Regions from separate parts of the Homo sapiens genome. Here region 1 is linked to region 2. Evidence: promoter capture Hi-C in 16 types of primary human blood cells and fetal thymus (Javierre and others, 2016). All regions are on one chromosome and are shown on one strand. Each heading gives the region's core, a stretch centred on a gene start or on the middle of the fragment in contact. The rest is flanking DNA. Distances are from core to core; before and after follow the strand shown.

Region 1 (7,572 bases), core at 131-2,630, 310 kb before region 2:
GCCGAGGGAGGGTTTGGCCCGTGAGGCCCCTCACCATGCCTGGTGACCCCTTAGCAGTTTTGATTTAGGTCCTCGCCTCCACGCAGGGGCCTGCGGGTGCGCGCGGCCCTTTGTTTCTCTAGAACCCTGCACGATTCGTGGTTTCATGTAGAAACAAGTTAGTGAGCAGTCAGTCAGTAACCACAGGCCGCAGAGTTCCGGGCTGCTCCGTGCTCTGGAACACGGGGGAGGGGTTGATGTCAGGGGCGTGGGTCCTGATCACATGGCAGCAGCCCTTCTTGGGGAAGTCAGCTACCCAGCAGCCTGTAGTCCTCGGCTACCCACCCTCACCGCCTGGGGTCCCATGGTGAGACAGCTGGGTGGGCATCAGGCTTCTGCAGAGGGCCAGGCCGGAGGGAGCTGGGCGAGGGAGTGGGGCTGGCTCCTGGCTTGCACCGGCCTCGTGGAATCCAGGCCTCAGACCTGATCGCTGGCGAAACTGGCTCTGTGCGCTGGAGCCCCTGGTCTTCTGCGTCTGTCCTCCTCCCGGCCAGACTTTACTCCTGGCTCAGCGACAGGTATTTGCTATGGAAGAGCTGTCCCTCCCTCCCCTCGGTGGGCCTGGGTCCACCTCCACCTCCTCTTCAGGTCCGCACCTTCCTCCCCTTTAAAACACCAGCCGGGCGCAGACCCGTTCTAGGCTTTTCCATGGTGCTTCCGCCAAAGCTTGTGACCGAGTCCTTCCCGCCTAGGGCTGGTGGGCCTCCCCTGCTGGTAGGTCTCTCTTCGCTTTCTTTACTCAGAACTGAAGCTCTCATTCCCCACCCACCAAGGAAAAACAAAAGGGAAGAAGCCACAGCTGGCCCCGGCTTGCTTTGGCACAGGTGTTTCCCCCCGGCCCCCCGTCGGGCACCCTGGTTCCTGTTCTGTCCCTGCCCCACGCGACCCTGGGGCTCCCACCCGGGCTCCTCAGCCTCCCCTGGGTTGGGGTGGGGGGACTGGCTCCCAGCCCTTGGCCTAGGGTTTGGTGAACGCCTTTCCTGGACTGCGGGCCCACTTCAGGCGCGGCTCCAGGCTGGGCAGCTGCGCTGGAGGGCCGAGGGCAGGGGTGGGGTCGGGCGTCCACCCTCAGGGTTGCGCCAGGGAGCCGGAAAGCCGACTCCCGAAGTTGGGGTCCTGGGAAAACTTGGGTCCTGGGTTGACTGAGAAGCGGCGGGGAAAGGAGGCGGGCCAGGAGGAGGGGGCCTGGCGGACGCCGGCCGGGGGGCGGGGCGCGGCGGGGCTGTCGGTCACGCCCCTCAGTCCGCCCCGCCCCGCCCCGCCTGCCGGGGAAGGGCCACGTTGCCCGCCCGGCCGTCCGGCCCCGGCGCGCCGCAGAAAGGGCTGGCGAGTCGAAAGGCGAGGCGGCCGCGGCAGCGCTTGGGACGCGCCTGGGCACCGGGCTCGCTCCCTGCGCCCCGGAGCAGGCCAAGTTCGGGGCCAGGACGTCGGGAGGACCTGGTGAGTAGGTGTCCGGGGACGGAGGTCAGACCGGGGGAGGCCTCGCGGGCGCCGAGAGGGAGCCCAAGGGACGTCGGGTCGCCCCAAAGCCCCGGTGCCCATGAGTGCTAGCGAGAGGGGGCTTGGCTGGGGAGCGGCCCGGTCCGACCCGGTGCCAGCTGCGCGTTAGTCCCTTCCCGAGCCGAGAGGTTGGAACTCCGCCTTCTGCTTTCGGAATCCCGGGCCTCCAGCTGTTAGAGGAAGGGCGGGCTCCGCGGACTGGGGAGGATGTTGTGAAACTCGGCCCCGGGCGTCCGTGCGTGCGGGGCAGGGAGGGGGTGGGATTGGGGAGTGGCCTTTCCCCCCTAACCTCACTCCAGCATCCTTTCCCCAAGTTAATAGAGGCTGATTCTCCTCAGCAGAAAGGAAATGTTGATTCAGTGTTGAAATATATATATAATAAGTTGGCAAGAAAACTTTTCTTCCTGTTTGCTAACGTGTGTGGAGTAGAGAGCCCCGGGACGTGCAGTGCCCGCGTCTGATAAACTCTGAAGTAGAGGGACTGTGGCTGGCCGGCTCCCTGAAGGCTGAAGCTTCACTTTGGTTAACCCTTGCTGCTGTAGTGGGTCTGCCGTTTTGTTTTAGAACATCACTGGCTGAGATGTTGCCCAGCTTTATTTTCAGTCATTTACGGTATTTTTTCAGGCCGTGTAGCCTTTGCTCTTACGTGCTCACATCATCCAGGATCTGCCTTCCATCAGCAATCACTGCGTCCTGGTCCTTCCCAATTCTGGGGACCATTGAGCTCACCCATTTCCCTGCTTCTGTGTCTCATTCTCACTGTTAGAAGCACTGCGGTATGCCTGACCTCAGTGGCCTGTGTTAACAAGGGAAACTCATTACTGTTCGGGGCAGTAGGGAAATTGTCACTGTCGTCAGTATCCAGGCAGTGGGACCTTGTGATGAACCAAATCAACCCTGTCACCTTATAGATGAGAGAACTAAGGTACAAGTGGGTCAAGTGACTTGTCCAAAGTTGCCTGGCTTGCTGGCTGGATCGCCTGAATCCCAGGCCTCATGCCTTTTGTGGCACTTGTATTTAGCTCTTCTTTTCCAGGATGAATAACCTGCATCCCTTCCCTCCTAGGTCTTATTCTCTCAACTCTTGAATTATTTAGTGTATCTTCTCTGACTACCTTTCTTTTTTTTCCGTCCTGAAATTATGGGCCTGGTACATGATACAGGAGTCCAGCCAAGGTCTAAGAACGAACATGAAAGCAGTTCAGTTAGAGTTCCATTACCTGTGACATGTCTATATTTTCTGGAATTTTTACGTAGTGCTTTTTAACTTTAAGCAAAGCAGAGATAGAAGGGAAAATCTGTTACCATTTCTTCCACTTCTGTACTTAATTTTACAGCTAAATATAACTTCTCGCTTATTGCTCATGATTGGAAGTTGACTATCTGGTGTTCACTTGCTATTTAAGAAACATTTTTTGCCAGATAAAGGAAATAGGCTGGAGAACACCATGGTATCAGAGTGTTAGAAAGGATCTCACAGCTCCTAGGCAGTCCTTCAAATGCTTCAGAAACTGAGTGAGCCCCATAGGGGCAGGTGGCGCCTACCCAGAGCCACCTCGGTTTTAGCTGAAGGGTTTTGTACTGAAAAGACTCACTTCTCATCTCCCACCATGGTGCAGATGTCTTTGTACCTGGTGGTGTGGATTGGCTGTGTCACCTCCCTAAAGGAGTTGTGAAAACTCTAGAAAGTCAAAGCCAGTTTTGAGTCTGTGCCTTGCATGCCAGTCTCATAAATGACATCATTAGGAACTCAGGTCAGGATTAAGGGCAGTTGTTCTATTTAAAAAGGAAGGTGTAGCAGATTGTATTTTCCCTCAAGGGCCTCACCCGTAAGTATCCCCTTCCACATGTAGTTATAGTTTGACATTGTCCACTTCCCACCTAGTGGTGGGGTTTATGATTCTCTCCCCTTGCATGTCAATAGGGACTTGTGGTTCCCTTGACCAGTGAGTAAGACAGACCTGATCCAAGGCTGAATCAGGAACAGGATACACTTTCACCTGGCTTGCCCGCTTTCTTGGAACACTCACCTTTGGAATGCAGCCACCACTTCCAGGACATTTCCAGGCCACATAGAGGGGTTCTAGTGAGCACTCCTGCTGATAAGGTCTCAGCTGCTGCCAACATCATCCTACAGACATGTGAGAGAATGTGAGAGCCTCTAGGGGCATCTGGCCCTCAGCTTTTGAGTCTTTCAGCAAGGCCTCAGGCATAGTGGAGCAGAGACACGTCATCTCCTCTGTGCTGCACTGTCCACATTTCTGACCAATAGAAACTGTGAGGAGTAAGTGATAACTATTGTTTTAAGCCACTAAATATCGAGGTAATTTATTATGCAGGAGTAGATACCTACTAAGGAAGGAGACATGAGTGGAGACAGGGCCTCAGTGTTTGGACTTGGAGCTGAGCACAGAGGGCAGGGAGGGCACTTGCCCTGCTTGTCAAGATTATCTAGAGTCTGTTTCTCTCATTGCTTCAGGTACTGATGGCTGCATAATGAGTCACCCCAGAACTTAGTGGCTTACAACAACAGAATCATTTTATTAACATCTCAGCTATGTGGTTCTTGCTTGTGGTCTTTCACGCCATTGCAGTCAGCTGGGGCTGGGATAATCTGGAGGGCTGTCTCCTGTGTCTAGCGGTTGATGCTGGCTGTCAGCTGGGACCTTAGCTGGGGTGGTCAGTTGGAATACCTATGGGGGTCCTGTCCATGTAGCAGTGTCCTGTCCATATAGCAGGGTCCTAGGAGTCAGCATCTTAAGAGGACCAGGTGGAAACTACTGCCTTTTATGAGTTAGTCTCACAAGTCACATAGCATCTCTTCCCAGAACCAAAGGGAGGGAACATAGACCCTCAGCTCTGGAGGCAGGAGTGTCTTTATCACTTGTAAGAAGAGCATATGGAATGGGATATGTGCGGTCATCTCTGGAAAATGTCACACTTCACTCTCTTGCTGCTGCGTTGGCCATCTTTCTCCCTGATTTCGGTAATAGTGCAAGCAGTCTTCCATCCAGCCACTTGAACCTCATACATGTGCCAAGCACTGTGGTGGGCACAGAGGTCATAGAGTCTTTTTTCCTAAGGAGGAAGGTGGGAGTCAGGTCAGCGTGGCCACAGATTCTGTTACAGCGTGGAGAGAGTGCTGTGGGAGTGTAGTCATAGGGAGGCCTGGCTCTGTCTGTGATGTTACAGAAGGAGTCACCTGAAGTGGCCTGAAAGGATGTGTGGGTGGCTGGCAGGTGGCGCTGTGGGTCAAATTCCAGGATGAGGGACCAGCTGGAGCAGAGACACAGCAGCGTCCAGGTATATGCTTACTGGGGAAAAAGCAGCCTGCTGAGGCCAGAGTGCAGGGTCCATGGGGTTAGTGGTTGGAGGTAAGGTTGAAAAGGGATGTTTCAGACAGTCTGTCTGAAGGGCTTTGGATGTCATCATAATGAGTTTGAGTTTGAGTTTGTGGGCAGTGCAGCCTCTGATGGTTTTTAAAGCAAGTTAATGTCGTGACCAGGTGTACTTGTCAGGAAGGATGCGCTGTTGCTGTTGGGAAGGTTTGTGAGAGGGAAGCAAGATTAGTGACAGGTGGACCAGCTGGGAAACTACATCAAGAGTCCAGACTTAAAACAGTGTTTCCTACGAAGGAATGAGTTCAGGTTAAAGGGCTGGAGGGCTTGACATGGGATGCTAGCAGTCAATGAGTAACTTTGTACTTCCATTTTCATAGTTTTGAAGTTCTTGGTCCTAGATGTATTTCAGAATTGAGAATTTTTTGGATTTTGAAAAGATGATCTGGTGAATTTACTCTGTAGTGGAAGATCAGAAGCAGCATGGCATAAGCCACCATGTTTATTTCTGTAGCAAAATGTATGAATAGCCACAGCAGGAGAGAGAAAAGACTATAAATAGCCCCATATTAGATCAGATCAGATTTTACCAAATGAGGCTGGATGAGGTTTTACTGCCAATTGAGTTTAGAAAACTTCTGTGTTTTAGTGCTTCTTGGATTTGGCAGTTACAGTTGAGGAACTGTGGATGTTTTTAGATCCCAGGCACATCTGCTGAATGTTGAGAGCCCTAGCACAGCGGCTTGGCAGTGCTGGTGGAGCCAATCCCTGTCTTCATGTAGCTTGCAGCTGAGGGGGCCTGAGAGAAGTTGAGCAAGTGGTTGCGCTTGTTGCTGTTGGTGAAGGGTAGGTGGACCTTACATGGTCCCAGGCGTCAAGGAAGGCATCTTGGCAGAGACACGAATCAGAGTGTGCCAGGTGAAGAAGATAGGGAAGAGCAGAGCTGGCACATGGGCACATGCAAAGACCCCGACGGTAGGCTTGGCTGTTGGGGTACCAGACGGGAGTGTGGTAGAGTGGAGCAAAGAAAATGGGGAGAAAGGAGTGAAATAACGGCCGATATTTACGTTGTCATGCCGGCACTGTTCTAAACACCTAACATGGCTCATCTCATCCGATCTTCACAGCAACCCAGTTTGAGTCTCAGAAATGTGGCAAAACGTAGGGTGATGCCTCTGGGCTGTCTGGCTTGCCTTTGTTGCTGCTGCACTCTCCTGATGGTGGCCTGAGCAGTGCTTCCTGGAGAAGCAGGTCACCGCTGCTGGCCAAGGTCTGGGCTTGATCATCCTTTTGGGCACAGCCAGTTGTGAGAGGGTGTATGGCTCCTGGTTCATGTGTGTGCACACAGCACTAACTTCCAGGCAGAGCTGAGGATCCTATCCCAGGAACTACGTGGATAAACAGTAGGAAAATAGCACTGGGGCCCAGGCTGAGCCTAAGGAGGTGGGCTGGAACTAGGGGTGTCATGTCCTCTTATGGCAACAGGAGCAAGTTTGAAGCACAGGGCTGTGGGGTGGAGAACAAGGGCCCAGGGATTGATTAAGGTGGAGGCCAGGGCTTGGCCGGGGCAGCTTTTCCTGTGGGCTCTGCAGCCACTCCATGTGTGTGCAGACTTGCCAAGTAAAAACTCAGTCAGAAGACTGGTTTGCTCTGCATGGCTTAGAAGGGTGGGGCAGGAGGTCCTAAGCATCAGGTAGTGGGTGTGGGCCACCAAATTCTGATGTCTGGAGAAGAGTAAAAAGGCATCTAAAGGGTGCAGAAGTTATCTCAAGGGTCCCAGGAGGCTTTGCCATAAGGGCCTGCAGGTCATTGATGAGTCAGGGACGGGCTATCCCTCTGGGCCCCCCCCCCCTTTTTTTTTTTTTTTTTTTTTTTGGTGGGGGATGGAGTCTTGCTTCATCATCCGGGCTGGAAGGCAGTGGTGCCATCTCAGCTCACTGCAACCTCCGCCTCCCAGGTTCAAGGGATTCTCCTGTCTCAGCCTTCTGAGTAGCTGGGATTACAGGCACGCACCACCACACCCGGCTAATTTTTGAATTTTTATTTTAGTAGAGATGGGGTTTCGCCATGTTGGCCAGGCTCCTGACCTCAGGTGATCCGCCTGCCTTGGCATCCCAAAGCGCTGGGATTACAGGCTTGAGCCACCAAGCCCAGTGGGGCCCCACCCTTCTAAGCCATGCAGAGCAGCACTTCACTGAATAGAGTTCAGTCCCTCTTCTCCATCCCCATCCTGTTATATAAAGTCTTTTTCTTGCACAGTCATTTAGGAGGTGGGAAGTTGGGAGACAGGGAATCCTGGCCATTAGATTGGAGGGAAAGTTCCAACATGGACAACATCCTGAGGGGAGAGCGAAGAAGAAACTGAAACTCTTCTGGGCCCAGTGGCTCACACCTGTAATCCCAGCACTTTGGGAGGCTGAGGAGGGTGGATCACTTGAGGTCAGGAGTTCAACACCAGCCTGGCCAACATGGTGAAAGCCCGTCTCTATTAAAAATACAAAAATTAGCTGGGCGTGGTGGCAGGCACCTGTAATCCCAGATACTCGGGAGGCTGAGGCAAGAGAGTCGCTTGAGCCTGGGAGGCAGAGGTTGCAGTGAGCTGAGATCATGCCACTGTACTCCAGCCTGGGCAACAGACAGAGTGAGACTCTGTCTCAAAAAAAAAGAAAAAAAACTGAAACTCTTTTGTGCATCA
Region 2 (7,133 bases), core at 752-3,251:
TCATTACAGTACCATGGGCAAGTCACCTCCACCTAGAAAGGTCTGTCTTCTCATTAGCAGCTGTTCATGTATTTTGTTTAAAGCAAAACACCTGGAGTAGATCACAGATCTAAAGATATTAAGCAATTTTTATTCTAAATTTTACTCTAAAAGTCATCACATTCTAAACACTGTGATGGCCAGGCATGTTGGCTCATGCCTGTAATTGCAGCACTTTGGGAGGCCAAGGAAGGAAGATCGCTTGAGCCCTGGAGTCGGAGACCAGCCTGGGCAACAGAGCAAGGCTCTACAAAAAATTAAAAAATTAGCCGTGGTGGTGTCTGCCGGTAGTCCCAGCTAGTCAGGAGGGTGAGGCAAAAGGATCGCTTGAACCCAGGAGGCGAAGGCTGCAGTGAGCCGAGAACTGTGCCACTGCACTCCAGCCTGGGTGACAGAGTGAGATCCTGTCTCAAAAACAATAAATAAATTAAATAAAGACTGTGATAAATGTCTTAACAGCAATTCCCCAAAAAAGCCTTTAAACCCTTTTGATCAATGGCCCACGTCCACTCCTACAGCCTACTAATCTGTTCTAGAGTAGTAAATTCTAGTATATTGTAAAAAATACAAAGTGCTACTACACACCATTTTATTTTTCAGTTATTCATATTCACTCTCTTCCTCTTCAAAGTTAAATTCCCAGATACAAGTAGGCAAGAAGATTCAGCACTAACAATGAGACAATCCACCTGGAAAACAGGTAAGTATGGGAACTCAAATTGAAGCAGATTATCTAAAACACATCAGCTTACACAGTAACAACAAATCCAAAGAGCTCGAGCGAGATGACCATTCACAACGCTGTCAATGGCAACAACAGTTAAAAACAGAAGGCCACAGGTGTTGGTTAGCAGGCTCTTCGGGGAAGGTGAAGGAGGTAAAGAATCAAAGGAAGTTTCCAAAGAAAATAGCGATTAGTGCTGAAAAACAAAAAGGAGGGATGCAATTTGGGTTACCAGAGAAAACTGCTTGTAGAAACCAGTACAATCTCCGAATCCTTCGCAATACTATAAAATAAGCATCCTCATTGCATGCCAAGTGCTTCTTTAACCTGTAATCCACCCCGTCCTCTCCCTCAAAATCTGCGTTAAACTGAATTTTAAAAACATTTTAGGGGAGGGGGTAAGCAGTTGGTTTCCCGCTTGACAGTAATTGTGGCCACGGAGCGCGAAGCTCCACACTCCACACAGCGCGCCACCCACAGAGGCGCTTCTCAAAAGTTGCCACCCATCTTGGCCACGAGTCCCGGGACACGGACTCGCCTCCTCCGACGACGGCAGCCGGGACCGGCCGGGATCCGGGAGCCCAGCGCCGACCCTCTCCCCTCTGCGCGCCGCCGCCGCCGCCGTCAATCAACGCCCCCCTCCCAGGGACTCGGCCCGGGGGCGCGGCCCGGGGCGGGGCGCGATCGCGGCGCGTCGAAGGGGCCCCCAACAGCCGCCAGCTTGCGGAGCAGCGGGACCGCCGCCCACGAAACGAAAGTTGCCCGCGACCGAGCCCGGCCGACGGGGGGCGGTCCGTGCGCGGCCGGAGAGAGGAGCGGCGCCCCGACCGGGCCTCCGGCCTGCCTCGCTCACCTCTCGGGGTGCGCCGCCTTCCTCCGCCGCTGCCGCCTCCTCCTCCCTGTGAGTGCAGCGGGGTCTGCCCTGTGGAACCACCATACCAGTCCCGCCCGCTGCTGCAGCGCCGCCACCGCCGCCGCTCCTCTGCCGCCTTAGTCGCTGCTCTTTGTTCCCCCTCCGAGAGCCACTGCTTCGGCTGCCCGCCTCAGCCGCCCCGACGGGCCGCCACTACGCCCTCCCGCCCTCTCGGCCCCCGGCCTCGCCCTCCTCGCTGCGCCCGCCGCTGCCTTCGCCTCCGCGCCGCCGTCGCCGCCGCCACCGACGCCGCCGCCTCCTCCTCCGCGCCCCCCTCGTTTTCATTGAAAGCAAACAAGCATCATGGCGGCGGCCGCCGTCCCTCAGCCAGCGAGCGCCCGGACCGCCGCCGGCGCTCCAACATCCTGGCCGCTCATTGGGCGCCGTCGCCGGGCACAACCATCCGCCCTTCGGTGCGGGGGTCGCTCCCGGCACGCAGCTGCCCAGGCCCCGCCCCCTTACCCCCGCGCTGGAGAGCGGTGGACCGGCCCGGCGCGCTGCGGGCCCTGCCTCCCTGCCTGCCGCCCTCCATCCCTTCCTCTCCGTCCATCCTTCGTCTCCTTCTGTTCCCGCTCTCCTCGCTCCTTTCCTGCCTTGGCACTTCTGTTTTCTCCTCTCCTTAGCGCTCCTCCATTTTTCATCTACTTCTTTTTCCGCCCCAGGTTGTCCACTTTTTTTTTGTTTTTTGAGACGGTGTCTTGCTCTTTCACCCAGGCCAGAGTGCAGTGGGGCGATCTTGGCTCACTGCAAGCTCCGCCTCCCGGGTTCACACCATTCTCCTGCCTCAGCCTCCCGAGTAGCTGGGACTACAGGCGCCCGCCACCGCGCCCGGCTCATTTTTTGTATTTTTAGTAGAGACGGGGTTTCACCGTGTTAGCCAGGATGGTCTCCATCTCCTGACCTCGTGATCCGCCCACCTCCGCCTCCCAAAGTGCTGGGATGGCAGGCGTGAGCCACCGCGCCCGGCTGGGTTGTCCACTTTTATCTCCTCTTTTCCTTGATCGTCCTCCCCTTTTTTTCTCCTCTTCCTTTTCCTTAAGCCTTCGCCTGTCAATCACGTCGAAACACAGTATTTGACCGGAGCCAGTATCTTGATCTGCCTAAAGACAAGACATTCAATCGTGAACAGTCGAATATTATTCCTTCCTCAATTATACAAAGAAGAGTAAGTTAACATACCACTTCAGCCTATTAATGGTAATTCATTCCATTACATTAATGGACAGTTTTGGTGCTGGGGTCCTAGCCTGGGTAACGGACAGCAGCTGCTGTGCTCCAAGATCAAAAGGTGTTCAGGGCAAACTCTGGTGTTTGAAGGTCAGCAGAGAAATGACTGGGCTGATTCATGATGCTTACATCAAGAAATATTAGTTGACTGATGGTCAGGGCACAGAGATGAATCAGACCCCACCCAGCCCTGAGTAAGCTCACAGTCTAGGGGCAAGAATAACACCCAACAGACTTAATATTGGAGGTATATTGGTCGGGCGCGGTGGCTCACGCCTGTAATCCCAGCACTTTGGGAGGCCGAGGGGGGCAGATCACCTGAGGTCCGGAGTTGGAAAACAGCCTGACCAACATGGCGAAACTTCGTCCCTACTAAAAGTACAAAAAATTAGCCAGGTCTGGTGGCTTGCACCTGTAATCCCAGCTACTCGGGAGGCTGAGGCAGGCAGGAGAATCATTTGAACCTGGGAGGCGGAGGTTGTAGTAAGCGGAGATCGCACCATTGCACTCAGGCCTGGGCAGCAAGAGCGAAACCCTGTCTCAAAAAAAAAAAAAAAATTTGAGCTATATGTTGAAGGCGTGAAGGAAAAGGAAAGCTGCCTGCCCACCTATGTGGCAAACTAGGATAGGCTGCTAACTGCTTCCTGGAAAATCAACCCTGAAGAAATGAGAGTGAGACAGGTTCCAGGAACTAACAGTAGCAACAAACCGAGGCTTCTGCTTCAGTGAAGGCTGTTGAGAGCTGGGGATGTGGGAAATGGGTTGCTGTTGCCTGGGGTGGAGGAGACCTGGCTGGAAGGGCAAGGAAAGGATGAGGGACAAAAGCTGTTCAGAGGTGAAGATGATCCCCCTCTCCCCAGCACGGCCTTGGGATGGTCATCGCTTGGCACTGCCATGACATCAGGAGTGACAGCCCAGGCCTCTAGCGCCATAGGACACTGGGCAAAGACAGAGCAGTGCAGAAGTTTAGGAGTCAGGAAGAACACATGTAGACCAGTAAGCTGCCTGTGGCCATCCCTCCACAACCTCCTCCTGTACAGCAGGGAGTTGTGCGGCCCTGTGCTGTACAGAGTATCCCAGGCTGAGGGGCCAATGGGACAGACACCCTGCAGGGCCTCTCCTCCCTGTGTGAGTGCCCTGGCCGTCTGTGCTCCAGCCTGGGTGCCTTTTTGTAATTTGGCCAGAGGCAGCTACCTCAGCCCGGTGCGGGGACTCAACGCCTGTAATCCCAGCACTTTGGGAGGCCGAGGCGGGCAGATGACTTGAGGCCAGGAGTTCGAGACCAGCCTGGCCAACATGGCAAAACCCCGTCTCTACTAAAAATACAAAAAAAAAAAAAAAAATTAGCTGGGTGCAGTGGCGGGCACCTGTAATCCCAGCTACTTAGGAGGCTGAGGCATGAGAATCGCTTGAATCCAGGAGGCAGAGGTTGCAGTGAGCTAAGGTTGCGCCATGGCACTCCAGCCTGGGCAACAGAGCAAGACTGTCTCAAAAAAAAAAAAAAAAAAACTCAAACAAAACAAAACAAAAAACAGAGGGAGCAATTCCCTTGTGACTGGCACGACTGTATGGAGGAGGGGAGGTCTTGTTGCACAAAATCTTGGTAGCATAAAGCAACAGTTTTACTGTATCTCATGATTCTGATGTTCACCCTTGGGGCCTCATGCCTATACCAAAGGTGGCAGCTGGGTGTTGAATGTCTGGCACCTCGCTGCCCCCTAACGAGGCCTCCCCCGCAGTGTCTCATCCTTCAGCCTTTGTGTGTGGCCCCTTTCCCCAGCAGGAGGTGATCCTGCACTTCCTACATGACAACCAGGGGCTCCAAGAGGAAAGCGAAGCTGCCAGGCCTTCTGAAGAAGGCCACTTCCTCAATATTCTATGAATTAAAGCAGGCACAAGCCCAAGCCAGATTCAAGAGGAGAGGACATAAGCTGTGGAGGAGCTGCGCGTGCATGCAGGGCGGGGTGGACTAATTGGAGCCCTCTGGGGAGACTTGCTGCCACCAGGAGGGTACGATAGTGGCTCTGCTGTGCATGCCCTTTTCTTTCTGCATATCCGAGGAGAACCCCGCAAAATACCTACTCACCCTTTCAGGCCAGATCAAAGTGCCCCTCATGTTAGGCCAGACCTCCCATTGCAAGTTATAAAACTCACAACTCAATATTTCTTTGCAAGAAGGAGGGAATTGAATTGAAAGAGGGAATGCTGAACCATTCAGGCATTGTAAGGTGGCATCAAGAATCGATCTCACCTCCCACCCTCCATCCTGTTCTCTCTGCAGGCCTCACAAGCGGGAAAGATGCCACCAACACCTGCAGGCTTAGATTCTACCAGCTTCTCCGCTTAGAGAAGGTGCTTCTTTCCTAATGATTCCAGCCAAAGACCCAGGGCAGGCTCTCACTGGCCTGGCCTGGGCCTTGTTTCTACTGCAGTCAGGCAGTACCAAAGCAGGACCAGTCTGGGATTGATACGTGCTAAGCGAGGACAGCATGAATTGGTGGCAGCCAGTGCCATCTTCCCCACCACATGGAGAGATGAGACACTGGTGAAGATGTGGAGTCTCAGAGCAAGGGCCTGACAACTTGTTTCAGTAGTTTTTTCCTTTAGCTCGTGACCTATACCAGAACCTATTCCAGGTATACAAACCAATACTTTTTTTTTTTCGCTTAAGTTTGAGTTTGGCTTCTGTAGCTTACAACCAAAATAATTCTAATTTGACCAGTAAATGCGTTGCACAGAGGGATGCGTCACCAGAATAGGGTCATCATCCGATGTGCACAGCAAGTCAATGCGCCAAGACACCAGGCTGCAGCAGAGGAGGTTTGAATCCTAGGGCCACTGGATGTGGAGACAAGAAGAAACCAAATCTGCCTCCCTGATGAGTTTGGGGCTAGGATTTTCAAGGGTTTTGGAGTGGGCTGAAGAATGGAGATTGCTGGTTTGTCAAGGAGAGCAGGATGAAGCCGTGCTGATTCTCATGCTGATTGGTTCCTTTGGGCAAGGGTTGGGGGTCTTCAAACTGGTTGGCATCACCTGTTCGACTGGAGTTCAGGATCTGCTTGAGCACTTCTTTCATATTTATTTACTTATTTTTGTTTTTTTATTTTTTTCCCTGAGACAGAGTCTTGCTCTGTTGCCCAGGCTGGAGCACAGTGGCACAATCTCGGCTTGTTGCAAGCTCCACCTCCCAGATTCAAGCAATTCTCCTGCCTCAGTTTCCCGAGTAGCTGGGATTACAGAGGCACACCACCACACCCAGCTAATTTTTGTATTTTTAGTAGAGACGGGGTTTCACCACGTTGGCCAGGCTGGTCTTGAACTCCTGACCTCGTGATTTACCCGCCTCGGCCTCCCAAAATGCTGGGATTACAGGTGTGAGCCACTGTACCCGGCCTATATTTATTTATGTTACTGTATTTTTGAGACAGGTTCTCACTCTGTCACCCAGGCTGGAGTGCAGTGGCATGATCACGGCTCACTGCAGTCTCAACCTCCTTGGGCTCAGGTGATCCTCCCACCTCAGCCTCCGGAGAGGCTGGGACTGCAGGCATACACCACACCCCGTTAATTGTTGTTGTTGACATGGGGTTTCACCTTGTTGCCCAGGCTGGTCTCCAGCTCCTGCCCTCAAGCAATCTGCCCGCCTCGGCCTCCCAAAGTGCTAGTATTACAGGCGTGAGCCACTGTGCCAGGCTGCTTAAGTGATTTTTAAACAAAAGCCTTAGGACCCTAACATCAGAAATCCCATCTGTAGTAACAGCGGGGGTGCATAATGGTCAGTGTCCGGAGCTACATGACTTTCTGTTACAAGGAAGTGGGCCTAAGTGCCGCCTGATTAATGCTTAATTATAACTATATTTCTGTCCGGGATTCCTGTTAACTCTGAGAGGGTGGCCTCAGATGGGTGGTTCAGTAATGAAAATGGACACCTAGGTGATGGCCATGATTGTTGATGTTGCCGTGGTGTCTGTCACTCAAACATGACTGGGGCATTGGAATTCCAACCTGGGACTGATGGAGAATGTTGCTGTGGTTTGAATATTTGTCTCCTCCAGCACTCATGAAGACAGAATTAACAATCAAAAGAGAAACAAAGCAGACAAATTTGCAAAACTCAGCCTGGCCATGTAGAATGAAAAAGTGTGTTCAAAAGCAGAAACCAAGGGTGGCCCAGTGGTCTTTCACCAAGATTAGTACAGAGAAAAAGGATCATCAAAGAGCATGGAGCTG

What was found. Contacts are between HindIII fragments. The CHiCAGO score rates a contact against its expected background, and 5 or more counts as called.
Region 1: a contact is called between a fragment that was not itself captured here and the fragment with the promoter of CNOT6 in region 2, in 1 of 17 cell types (fetal thymus). The highest score is 6.3, in fetal thymus.

Annotation. Positions count from the first base shown.
Region 1 is chr5:180,796,587-180,804,158 of GRCh38, reverse strand. It overlaps MGAT1 (alpha-1,3-mannosyl-glycoprotein 2-beta-N-acetylglucosaminyltransferase), which reads left to right and starts at 1,353. Exons shown (of 2, transcript NM_002406.4): 1 at 1,353-1,479. RefSeq lists enhancers at 374-483, 627-1,333, 1,334-2,041, 6,153-6,654 and silencers at 854-903, 914-993, 1,164-1,523. The HindIII fragment of the contact is 1,346 bases long and covers 708-2,053 here.
Region 2 is chr5:180,489,247-180,496,379 of GRCh38, reverse strand. It overlaps CNOT6 (CCR4-NOT transcription complex subunit 6), which reads right to left and starts at 2,001. Exons shown (of 12, transcript NM_001370472.1): 1 at 1,617-2,001. RefSeq lists silencers at 1,232-1,491, 1,522-1,621, 1,792-1,931, 2,062-2,261. The HindIII fragment of the contact is 20,633 bases long and covers 1-7,133 here.